3 separate regions of the Homo sapiens genome follow, and regions 1 and 3 are each linked to region 2. The links are contacts of gene promoters, found by promoter capture Hi-C in blood cells and fetal thymus (Javierre and others, 2016). All regions are on one chromosome and are shown on one strand. The core of a region is centred on a gene start or on the middle of the fragment in contact, and the rest is flanking DNA. Distances in the headings are between cores, read along the strand shown.

What was found. Contacts are between HindIII fragments. The CHiCAGO score rates a contact against its expected background, and 5 or more counts as called.
Region 1: a contact is called between a fragment that was not itself captured here and the fragment with the promoter of CAPRIN2 in region 2, in 2 of 17 cell types (naive B cells and naive CD4 T cells). The highest score is 5.3, in naive B cells.
Region 3: a fragment that was not itself captured here is called in contact with the fragment with the promoter of CAPRIN2 in region 2 in 1 of 17 cell types (total B cells); the score reaches 5.5 in total B cells.

The regions. Positions count from the first base shown.
Region 1 is chr12:28,185,986-28,189,454 of GRCh38, forward strand. It overlaps LOC729291 (a long non-coding RNA gene), which reads right to left. Exons shown (of 1, transcript NR_148936.1): 1 at 1-3,469. Among named protein-coding and RNA genes, the nearest start is that of CCDC91, 2.7 kb to the right of the region's middle. The HindIII fragment of the contact is 3,286 bases long and covers 240-3,469 here.
Region 2 is chr12:30,753,087-30,756,600 of GRCh38, forward strand. CAPRIN2 (caprin family member 2) reads right to left here and starts at 1,865. Exons shown (of 19, transcript NM_001385503.1): 1 at 1,665-1,865; 2 at 258-473. The coding sequence starts at 434. It overlaps LOC645485 (a long non-coding RNA gene), which reads left to right and starts at 1,988. Exons shown (of 2, transcript NR_135046.1): 1 at 1,988-2,185. RefSeq lists enhancers at 1,239-1,318, 1,322-1,491 and silencers at 1,419-2,098, 3,190-3,393. The HindIII fragment of the contact is 2,894 bases long and covers 882-3,514 here.
Region 3 is chr12:32,760,124-32,763,167 of GRCh38, forward strand. No RefSeq gene overlaps it. Among named protein-coding and RNA genes, the nearest start is that of YARS2, 5.7 kb to the left of the region's middle. The HindIII fragment of the contact is 1,074 bases long and covers 1,175-2,248 here.

The DNA.
Region 1 (3,469 bases), core at 633-3,132, 2.6 Mb before region 2:
ATGCACAATGTGGGAAGAGTGGAATAAATGTTGGGATTGCAACTACAGTGTCCATGATAATCACTTTCAAAGCATATATATATGTAACAACTATATTGTTAGTTGCAGTTAAACTAGATCTAAGAATATGTAATTGTGTCTGACATAATTTTTTATGTTTGATTCTTAACAAGTTTTAAGTCCGGCTCCTCACCTGTTCCCTTTTGTATGATATCTGAATCTAGGCAACTTGATGAGAAAGCTTGCCTAGATCCAAATATGGTGCAAAATAGGTATTTCCTATTTTGGTGCTGGTGGAAAATTTGAGCCATACAGTCCCTGCCCTGTGTGGGCTTTTTCACCCAAGCGCCATGTCCTAGCCATGAAAAAAATCCCAATAGCTTTTTCTCCTACTCTCTCAAGTCATTTTAAAACCTGCTTAGGAGGTCTGCTGTACTCTTCCTAGAAAGGCTCATTATGTGAGTAATAAACCTTTTTATACCCTGTTGGTGCATATGTGGTATGCTAAGTCTTGAAATAGGAGCCAAAGTTTGGGTGAGGGTTCATCTCATTTCTGTGGGTGACTGCAACAGCACATAAACTTCAATGGCAGTTTAAATTCCTGCAACCTATCTGCTGTGGTCTGAATGTTTTTGTCCCCCCACAATTCATATGTTAAACTTAATCACCAATGAGATAGCGTTAGGAGGTGGGGCCTTTGGGAGGTGATTAAATCATGAGGACACAAGCCTCATGACTAGGATTACTGCCCTTATAAAAGAGGCTCCAGAGAGCCGCCCTGTCTCTTCCACCACATGAGGACACAGCTAGAAGGCACAATCTATGACCCAGAAAGCAGGGCCCCACTAGACATCCAATCTGCTGGTGTCTTAATCTTGAACTTCTTAGACTCCAGACCTGTGAGAAATAAATTTGCATTCATAAGCTACCCAGTATTTTTCTATAGCAGCCTGAACAAACTAAGATACCATCATTGTAGTGTTTCATTATTCTTATCACCAAGTGCCCAATCTTCCTCTTGATGACTACAGCCAGAAACCTGGAATATATCTTCAATTCTTTCTTCTTCTTCTTACTCCTCCTTTTTTTTTTTTTTTTGAAAGGGTCTTGCTCTGTCATCCAGCTGGAATGCAGTGGCACAATCACAGCTCACTGCAGCCTCCACCTCCCAGGCTCCAGTGATCCTCCTACCTCAGCCTCCCACATTGCTGGGGTTACACGTATAAGCCACCGTGACTGGCTTCTTTCCTCCTTTTTTGTTGGCCATGTGCCTTTAAAATCCTTTCTGCCAATTTCATGGGTACCATCTCGGCTCAGGCAGTCATTAATTCCTCATTTTAGTTATTTTATGTCTTCTATCTGGTTTGTTTGTTTTTCTAGTCTTGGCCCCGTCTCTCCTACCCAATAATCCTTCCTCTATACTGCTGCTGAAGTAATTCTTCTCCAACCTTGCTTAACTAATTCAGCAATTTCCCATTACCTTCAGGATACAGTTCAAACTCCTTAACACAGTTTACAAAACTCTTCATCATCTTACATCTACATTTCCCATTTCTCCTGCTGCATACCTGCATACCACAATGTTTGCTTCTATGGTATGCTTACCTGCAAAATATACTTACCTCCACAGTTCATAGACAAGGAAATATATACAAAGGTATATGTTCCTTTTTCTGGAGCATACTCATGTCTTTCCTTAGCTTGGTCAATTCCAATAGATTCTTCAGGACTAATCCTGAGCTTTGATACATTCTATGAGAAGTACTTCCTGTTTAACCTAGGCTGAGTGAGGTGTTCTTTCTCCACCTTTTAGCAATAACCTTTATTTCAGTGTTTATTATCACTGTAATATCTGATTTGATTGTATATTTTTCTAGATGTGATTCTCTTAAGGGCAGGCACCATGTTTTTCATCTCAGAAGGTCACAAACTATTAGGAAAATGGGCTTGCAGATACATGTACAACAAAGAATAATAATTGAAGATGGCTCATGGAAAAAGTATTCTGAAAAGTAAGAGAGGCACATGTTCTAGAGAGACAAGAAAAGGCACAATAGAGAAATTAGAGCCCTCATACATTGCTGGTGAGAAAGTAAAATGGTACAGCCACTTTGGAAAACAGTGTGGTAGTTCCACAAGGGGTTAAACATAGAGTTACCATATGACCCCGCAATTCCACTCTTAGGTATATATCCAAGAGAAATGAGAACATATGTTGACACGAAAACTTGTACATGAATGTCAACAGGAGCATTATTCATAATATTCAAAAAGCTGAAACAACCCAACCGATGAAGGGACTTTGAAAACATGTTAAGTGAAAGAAGCCAGTCACAAAAGACCACACATTGCATGATTCCATTTATATGAAATGTTCAAGATAGACAAATGCATACAGACGGAAAGTGGATTACTGGTTGCCTAGGGCTGGGGAGAGGAGGGAGAAGTTGGGGCCAAAGGGTATGGGGTTTCTTTTTGGGGCTGTGAAAATACTCTAAAATCGAATGTGGTAAAGCATGCATAACTCTGTGAATATACTAAAATCACTGAATTGTTTATAAAGAAAAAGATTACTGTGGGGAAGGAAGAAAGATTTCATGGAGTTGGTAGGATTTGAATTCACTGATAAATAAGTGATATAAAAAGCAAAGTGATGTGCTATAGTGAATAAACAAGCCCTTCTGTTGGGCAGATCTGGCTTTAAATCCACTTGGTCAATTTACACTTCCTAAATCTGTAACCTCATCTAAAGTGTAAATATATTAATATACCTACTTTGTAAAATTATTGTGGTAAGTTATATATGGGATTTAAAATATTTAATCTAATGCCAGGCACATAGCAAATATTAATAATAAATATTAGTTACTTATTATAAATCTGTTTAGTATGGAATACAGTTTAGTATTGAATATCGGGACAGAGTGAACATGTAAGTACATCAATGGGAAGGAACTCCCAGAAACTAATCTGGTTTCCAGCAGAAAGAGATATGAGAGACAAAATAATATAAAGGTAACCTTACTAAGTTTAAGAAATATTTATGAATACCTTTTTTCTAACTACTAGACACTTTGCTAGACTGCTGGATACACAAAGACAAATGAGAAGTGAGTAGATTGCTGGATATACAAGTGAGAAGTGGTCCTTGACTTGGTAGTCTAGTAGACAGATAAAAAAATATGTGTAAGAAAGCATTACATTTCTTACAATAGAAATGTTTTTTGTATGCATAAAGAAGGGGGTGGGCTGGAAAAAGAATGTAGTCAAGGTGACTTGCTCAATACTGAAACTGCTCATTAACTACTTAGGCCAGCACTTATGGCAGACTTGTCAGGATGCCTTGCTAATATTTTCCACTTCCAGTACAGAACAGAGATTACAGGTTTAAGCCAATTTTGTTCAACAGATGAGAAACCCAGTGTCCAAGGATGAAAGAATACTTGTTATACAAGGAATGTGAATATTC
Region 2 (3,514 bases), core at 615-3,114:
CCTAAAATAGCTAGCTCTTAAAGTATTTCAACAGCAGCATGCATAATGTAACTATGAAGAATATTTTTATTCCGTTGTTTTGACAAATGAAACAGAAAATGTTTAATATTTCCAACACGTAACCTGCTTGTTTAAAGCAGCTAAACCTAAGGTTAGTTAAATTTTTAGTAGAGAACACCTATGAGCTCTGAAAGAAAAATGTCAGCTCCTTAATCTTTAAGATCATGCATCTACAGGACTGGAAGAAAAAAAGTTACCTTCTTTTTCTCGATGTTTCTAATTTTGTGTTTAAGGCATATGAGTCCATTTTCAATATAGGTCTCATACGCTTGGGAAGGAGATGCAGCAGAACTCAGAGTAGACTGCAGGGGGCTCAAGGCCCGCTGGCTTTCCCCATGCTGACTGTGGTTCACTTGGGGCTTGGCTGACTTCATATTCCCCTCTCTTTCCTCCTCTGAATGGCCTGAAGGTGACTGGTAACCAAAAGGGGATGAAAAGAGTTGCACCATTGAAACAGATGAGGCTGAAGGAGGTGGGGGAAAGTTAAGTATAAAATTAGGACTAGAGGGACACAGCCAGGCAATAACTTCCCTGGAAAGTCTAGACCACTCCCTTAAACTCTTTTCCACAGAAGTGAGCTCGAAACCCAATGATGCTTGAGATACTTGTACTTCCATCCTACTTTTAAAGTAATTAGTGCCGCTAGCCAATAAGGATAGCCTTTACATAGGCAAAATCTCCCAATACGGAGGATGTTTCCAGAAATTCGATTTTCCACATAGGGAGGAAGAACTGCAACGGCTTCAGAGCTCCTTTCTTCTCATGAGGGCAGATCACATTCTAAATAATTCCCATGGCCACGTGATGACACCAAAAGAATAAGCTTTCCACACCGGGACCTAAGGCTGAGCCACTCAAACCTCTTTACATGATCCCTCACCACCAGCCCTAACCTCAATCCTGAACGTTTGGAAGAAAATCCAAACTCACAACATTCTTTTATAGCTCTAAGTGAACCAGCAGCTTCTTGAACAAGAATGCTAACTTCCCCGATTGCTCTGGGGCCTACAAGGCAATCCATCACTACTGGACATTTGCAGACAGGTACTCTCTCAACCTGCAGGAACCCCGCGTTTATTCTCAGTTGTTTGGTTTAGACTAGCCCAAAACCGCTTACACCCAACCAGTTTAAGAGCTCATTCTAGCGAGCCCTTCCCGTGCCCTAATCAGTGGCCCTTGCGCACTTACGTATCCGTCTCTCGACCTCCAAGCACCCGAGGTATCCCTTTCTCCCCCCTTAGGAGCATCCCCAAACCAAGGACAGAACAGGCCCCATGCACGCCAGCGCGCACCCCCTCAAGTCTCCGGGGGAGCCTGAGCGAAGAGCACCTCTCCCGAGCGGCCACGGAGAGCCCTGCAGGCACCGACCCCCACCCTTCCCACAGCCGCCCCGGGTACGCAGAAGCCGCTTCTGCAAGGCCCCGGGGGAGGCTGACCTGCGGAAAACGCACCGACCGCGGCCCTCGGGAGCCCCGCCCCGCCCCGGGGATGCCAAGCCGCCCCTCCACCTCGCAGCGGCGCCGGCCGCCCAGACCTGCCCACCCTCGCCGGGTCAGCCGCCTCCCTCCGCCGCGCCGACCGAGGCCGCCGCAGCCCGACTTCACCTCCCCAGGCAGCCGAGGCCGCCGCTGCCGCAGCCCGGGCCCGCCTTCCAAAGCCTGGGGGAGGCAGGAGCGCTGCGGAGGTGGACCGGCGCCACCCCGCACTCGCGTCTCCTCCTCCTGTCTCCTCCCTCTCCCCTCCCGGTCCTCGCCCGCGGCCTCTGCGGCGCCAGAGACCCAGCCGACTCAGCCGCTCGCGCCCAGGCCCGCCCACCGCGCCGCGCGTGGCTTTTGTAGGCCGCGCCCCGCCCCGGCCCGCTCCGCCCTCGGCCGCCCCGCCACCGCCTCCTTCCGGTGCTCCTTCCCGGCTGCAGCTGGCCGCCAGCGCTTGTCGGGTGTTAGTTCCGGGCCCAGCTTGGGCTGGTGGTAGGTCGGGAGAGGGCGCGGTCTCCCAGCCTTTGCGCAGATTGCGGGGCACCAGGTGGGGCCGAGGCGACGCCGAACGCCGGCAGGCCGGAAACCGCGCAGCCCCGCTGGACCTCGCTGATTGCCGGCGGCACCGGTGGTTTCGCGACCTTGAACAGGTGACTCCAATAGCTCCAGGAGGGCAGCGAGCCCTTCGCGGAACTACCAGATAAGCCATGCTTGAGGCTGTCGTAGCCTAGTGGGTAGTCGTGAAATGCAGATGCGCCTTTGCCCCTCAGATAGCATCTTTCATAGTAGGATGGGGAAAAAACACCGTTTCCTTACCGGGGAATCAGCCTGTAAGAGCAGAATGCCCCAAATCAGCATCGCCATAAAAACGGAGTAGGTGACTTCGCAACCTGCAATAATAGGATTGAGTTTATTCAAGCCGTATTATTTGTTCATGTGACACACATTAATTGACTGGCACGCAGAGAAAGCTGTAAAAAATCTTTGTAAGGTTACATAAAATTAAGAGAAAAGTCTGGAAATATGTAAAAGTTTATTGAGGAAAGGAAGGTGTTTCTGATACCAAATAAGAAACACACACACACACTCAGCAATACTTTGCCCCAACATGTGTTTACTTATTACACCAAGTGGAGTTTTTTAGGTCCTGATTGTCCCTGACGCTCTGATAAAAAATATTGAGACTAGCAAAAGAACAGAAAATTCAGAAGAAGAATCAAGGAAACAAAGGTCTAGTTTTAAAAGCCTTGGTCAACTTCACACAAATTAATTTTAACATTACTTAATACATTTTTTTGGCATCTATTATCCGTGTTCTTTTCGGTCCCTGGTGACATAATGTACCCTAATGTTGCATTTTAACTTTGAATCTCTGAATCCCATATGTGTTCTTCAGGGTCAGAGAAATACTAGATTTTCCCTTTTTCTCATTGTTTATAAACAGAGAAACGCAGAAGATGCTGAACATGAGGAGAGGAAGGCTATGCCTTCACCTTTGGTAACACAAAAAACAGTGGCCATAAGAAAAAATGTGAAGGACACACTGTTGGATCAATGAGTTGACACAAAGTTACAGCACAGCCTGAGTTGTAGTCCGAGCTAATGATGAACCTAAAAATGGTATTTCAGTCAGATTAATCATGAAATGTTTGCCCCCTGCCGGCGCAGTGGCTCAAGCCTGTGATCCCAGCACTTTGGGAGGCCGAGGCGGGGTGGATCACCTGAGGTCGGGAGTTCGAGGCCAGGCTGGCCAGCGTGGTGAATATCCATCTCTACTAAAAATACAAAAATTAGCCGAGCATGGCGGCATGTGCCTGTAATCATGGCTACTCAGAGGCTAAGGCAGGAGAATCGCTTGAAACCCGGAGACGGACGCTGCAGTGAGCCGAGATTGTGCCGCTGCACTCCAGCCTGGGTGACAGAGCAAGACTCTATCTCAAAAAAAGAAAGAAAGAAAGAAATGTTTGCCTTCTAATCGG
Region 3 (3,044 bases), core at 462-2,961, 2.0 Mb after region 2:
TTGTCTTTGTATAATAATTTATAACTCAATCTGCCTCATAATTACATCTTCTCACACATGACTTTCATGTTGCTGTTTTTCTTGAAACCTACATCTAAAGTCCTAAAGATCCTCCCACTCTGCCCATCCTTACCTGCAAGGCAGTTGCTCCCCTTTCATTCCAAACTAATTTCTTTCAGGAAGCTCCTCTGCATTAGGTAGGGCGAAGGAAGGATGCTTTTACTGTCCAGGTTCATCATGCCCCTAAAATGTATTAAAATGTAAAATCAATAATGCTTACCCTTCCCACACAAAAAAATGGAAAGACCATTAAGTTCTATTAAAATTTATAGAAATTTATGTGAGCTAAGTGTCTTGAAACCTAGTCTGTGTCCCTTGATTGAAGTGGCTTTAATGCTTTTTGAGCTGATGGTCATATTAACATCCAAAAATTTTTTATAAGAGATTAGCTTATTTTAAGATGCTGATTGTAGGAGGATAATTAGACAAAGAAACATGTTACTAGATATGCATTTCCTTTCTATATTAGAGTTTAGAGAAGGATACCCCAAGTTTCTTTCTTTCTTTCTTTTAGGCTGCTGTTGTAGCCAGTGGAATAACCTGGAGGTCTCAGCATTGCCTTAACTTTATGCACCTGGTCCCATACCATATGGCTGGATAATGTTTTGAGATATTTATGGGTTTAAAAATCTTTCATTTTCCAGGCCGGGTGCGGTGGCTCACGCCTGTAATCCCAGCACTTTGGGAGGCCGAGGTGGGCAGATCACGAGGTCAGGAGTTCGAGACCAGCCTGGCCAACATAGTGAAAACCCGTCTCTTCCAAAAATACAAAAATTAGCCAGGTGTGGTGGCACACGCCTGTAGTCCCATCTACTCAGGAGGCTGAGGCGGGAGAGTCGCTTGAACCCGGAAGGCAGAGGTTGCAGTGAGCTGAGACCACGCCATTGCACTCCAGCCTGGGTGACAGAGTGAGACTCCGTCTCAAAAAAACAAAGAAATAAAAAATCTTTCATTTTCCTCTCTTCATTTTAACTGTCCATTTGTAGCAAGTTCTGTGTGTCAGTGCCTTGGGGAAAGTACAAGTCGGGGAGGAATACAGAGTCATCCTGGAACTCTTTGTAACTTTTGTTTCCAAAAGTCAAAAGCCTAAGATAGGATGAAGTTTAAGGAAATAAGCTTAGAGAAGAGAAAGAGGTAGGATTCTCCAGCTTAAAGAGAGTGCCCCTGCCCCAAACCTGGGCAAGGGAGCCCTGGCTATGGCCCTGGTTTGCCAGAGGAGCTGTGCATTGCTCCCTGGCCTCAAAGGGACGACCTCCTGCTACACTTCCAGCCTGGGGCTCCTGGCTTTGCCTAAGGTTCCTCTGCTTCATTTGAGGCAGGAGAGCCCCTGAGTGCCAGCTGGAGGTCTCAGAGAACCACTGAAGGCTTGGCCAACAAGGATGGCTAGAATGATCAGAACCAATTGGAAATTAGAGATATTATTTCCTGGGGCACGTTGATCAAATTTTGGTAAAACCCTAGAAGCGGGAAGGAGGCTAATAATGATGGAGAAACAATTTCCTACCATTCTAGTGGGTTAAGGACATAGATGTTTGCTTATTCATTTAACAGATATTTATTAGAATTATTTGATCAGTCAGGCACTGTTCTAATGGCTTAGGATATATTCATGGATGAAAGAAAGATTCCTGTCCTCATGGAGATAATATTATTCTATGAAGTTATTTTTCTCTGAGCAGTTTTATTCTTCACTTCCTCTTTCTTCATTTCCTCTTTCTGATTGGGCTCCTTTTCCACGCCCAATTTTTGGAGCAGAGAGAGAGTGACTCCTAGGTAGCTGTTGAAGAACATGCAGATTAGGAGGGGGCTGTGGGAGAGAAACATTTGTTGAGAATATGACCAAGGGAAAGACATCCCTTGTAGGAGGGTGGTGATTGAGGTGTAGAGTAGAATTCAAACAGCTTTTCCCCTTTCAATATGTAATTGTGTCTCCCTTCACTCCTGCTGCAGTGAATTTTTCTCCTCGCAGAACCCTTTCCCCAACATCCACCCCTTCTGCTCTGAGCTTGGTGATAGCCGCCGCAGTCCCCTACCAGCATGTTCTTTCCCAGGCCATGTTGTCGGGACTGTAATTCAGCCATGACTGGCAAGCAACGAATCCGCCTGGCTGTTTGCTAATGTGATGAGAAAAGCAGGCTTCCCTCTTAGAAAGAGGATCTTGGAGACACTATTGTGATTGCATCTGAAAAGCTTAGATCAAATGGATAATGTCTTCAGTGAAGATCATTTTGGAATTTTCCTATTTATCAAGTTACCTTAGTAATTTTCTGGTCTCTCTGACAGAGTAGAAGTGAATCAATCAACTCATCATTGTCCCTCCATCAAGGCCAAGTGAATTTATATCTCCATTGGAGAAGAAACAAAACAATAAGCAATCATTCTATGTTTTGTAGAGCAATTCTATTTTGATTAAAACTATTTTTGTCTTTTTTTCTCAGTGTCTTCAATACGGACTTTATGTTTTTCTGTTATAAGCACTGACTGGTTAGTTACCAAAATGAGAAATAAGTCTGGAAACATCTCACTCATTAATGTTCTGTAACATCATAAGGGGAACAAATACCTTGTATTTACATAATGTTTGCAGAAAAGTCAAATATTACTTCCTTCATCCTCACAACCATAACAAAATGTGCTTCTGAGTCGTGGTCCAAAGACCATGGGACTAGGAGTCACAGACATGAGTAGCTATCTCAGCTTAACCTTGACTACCTGTTCCTCCTTAGATAAGTCATTTAACACACTAGCCTTGGTGTCCTCATTTTAGAAGTAAATGGGCTGGGCTTGGCGCGGTGGCTCATGCCTGTAATCCCAGCATTTTGGGAGGCCGAGGCAGGCAAATCACGACGTGGTCAGGAGATCGAGACCATCCTGGCTAACACGGTGAAACCCTGTCTCTACTAACAATACAAAAAATTAGCCAGGCATGGTGGCCGGCACCTGTAGTCCCAGCTACTTGGGAGGCTGAGGCAGGAGAATCACTT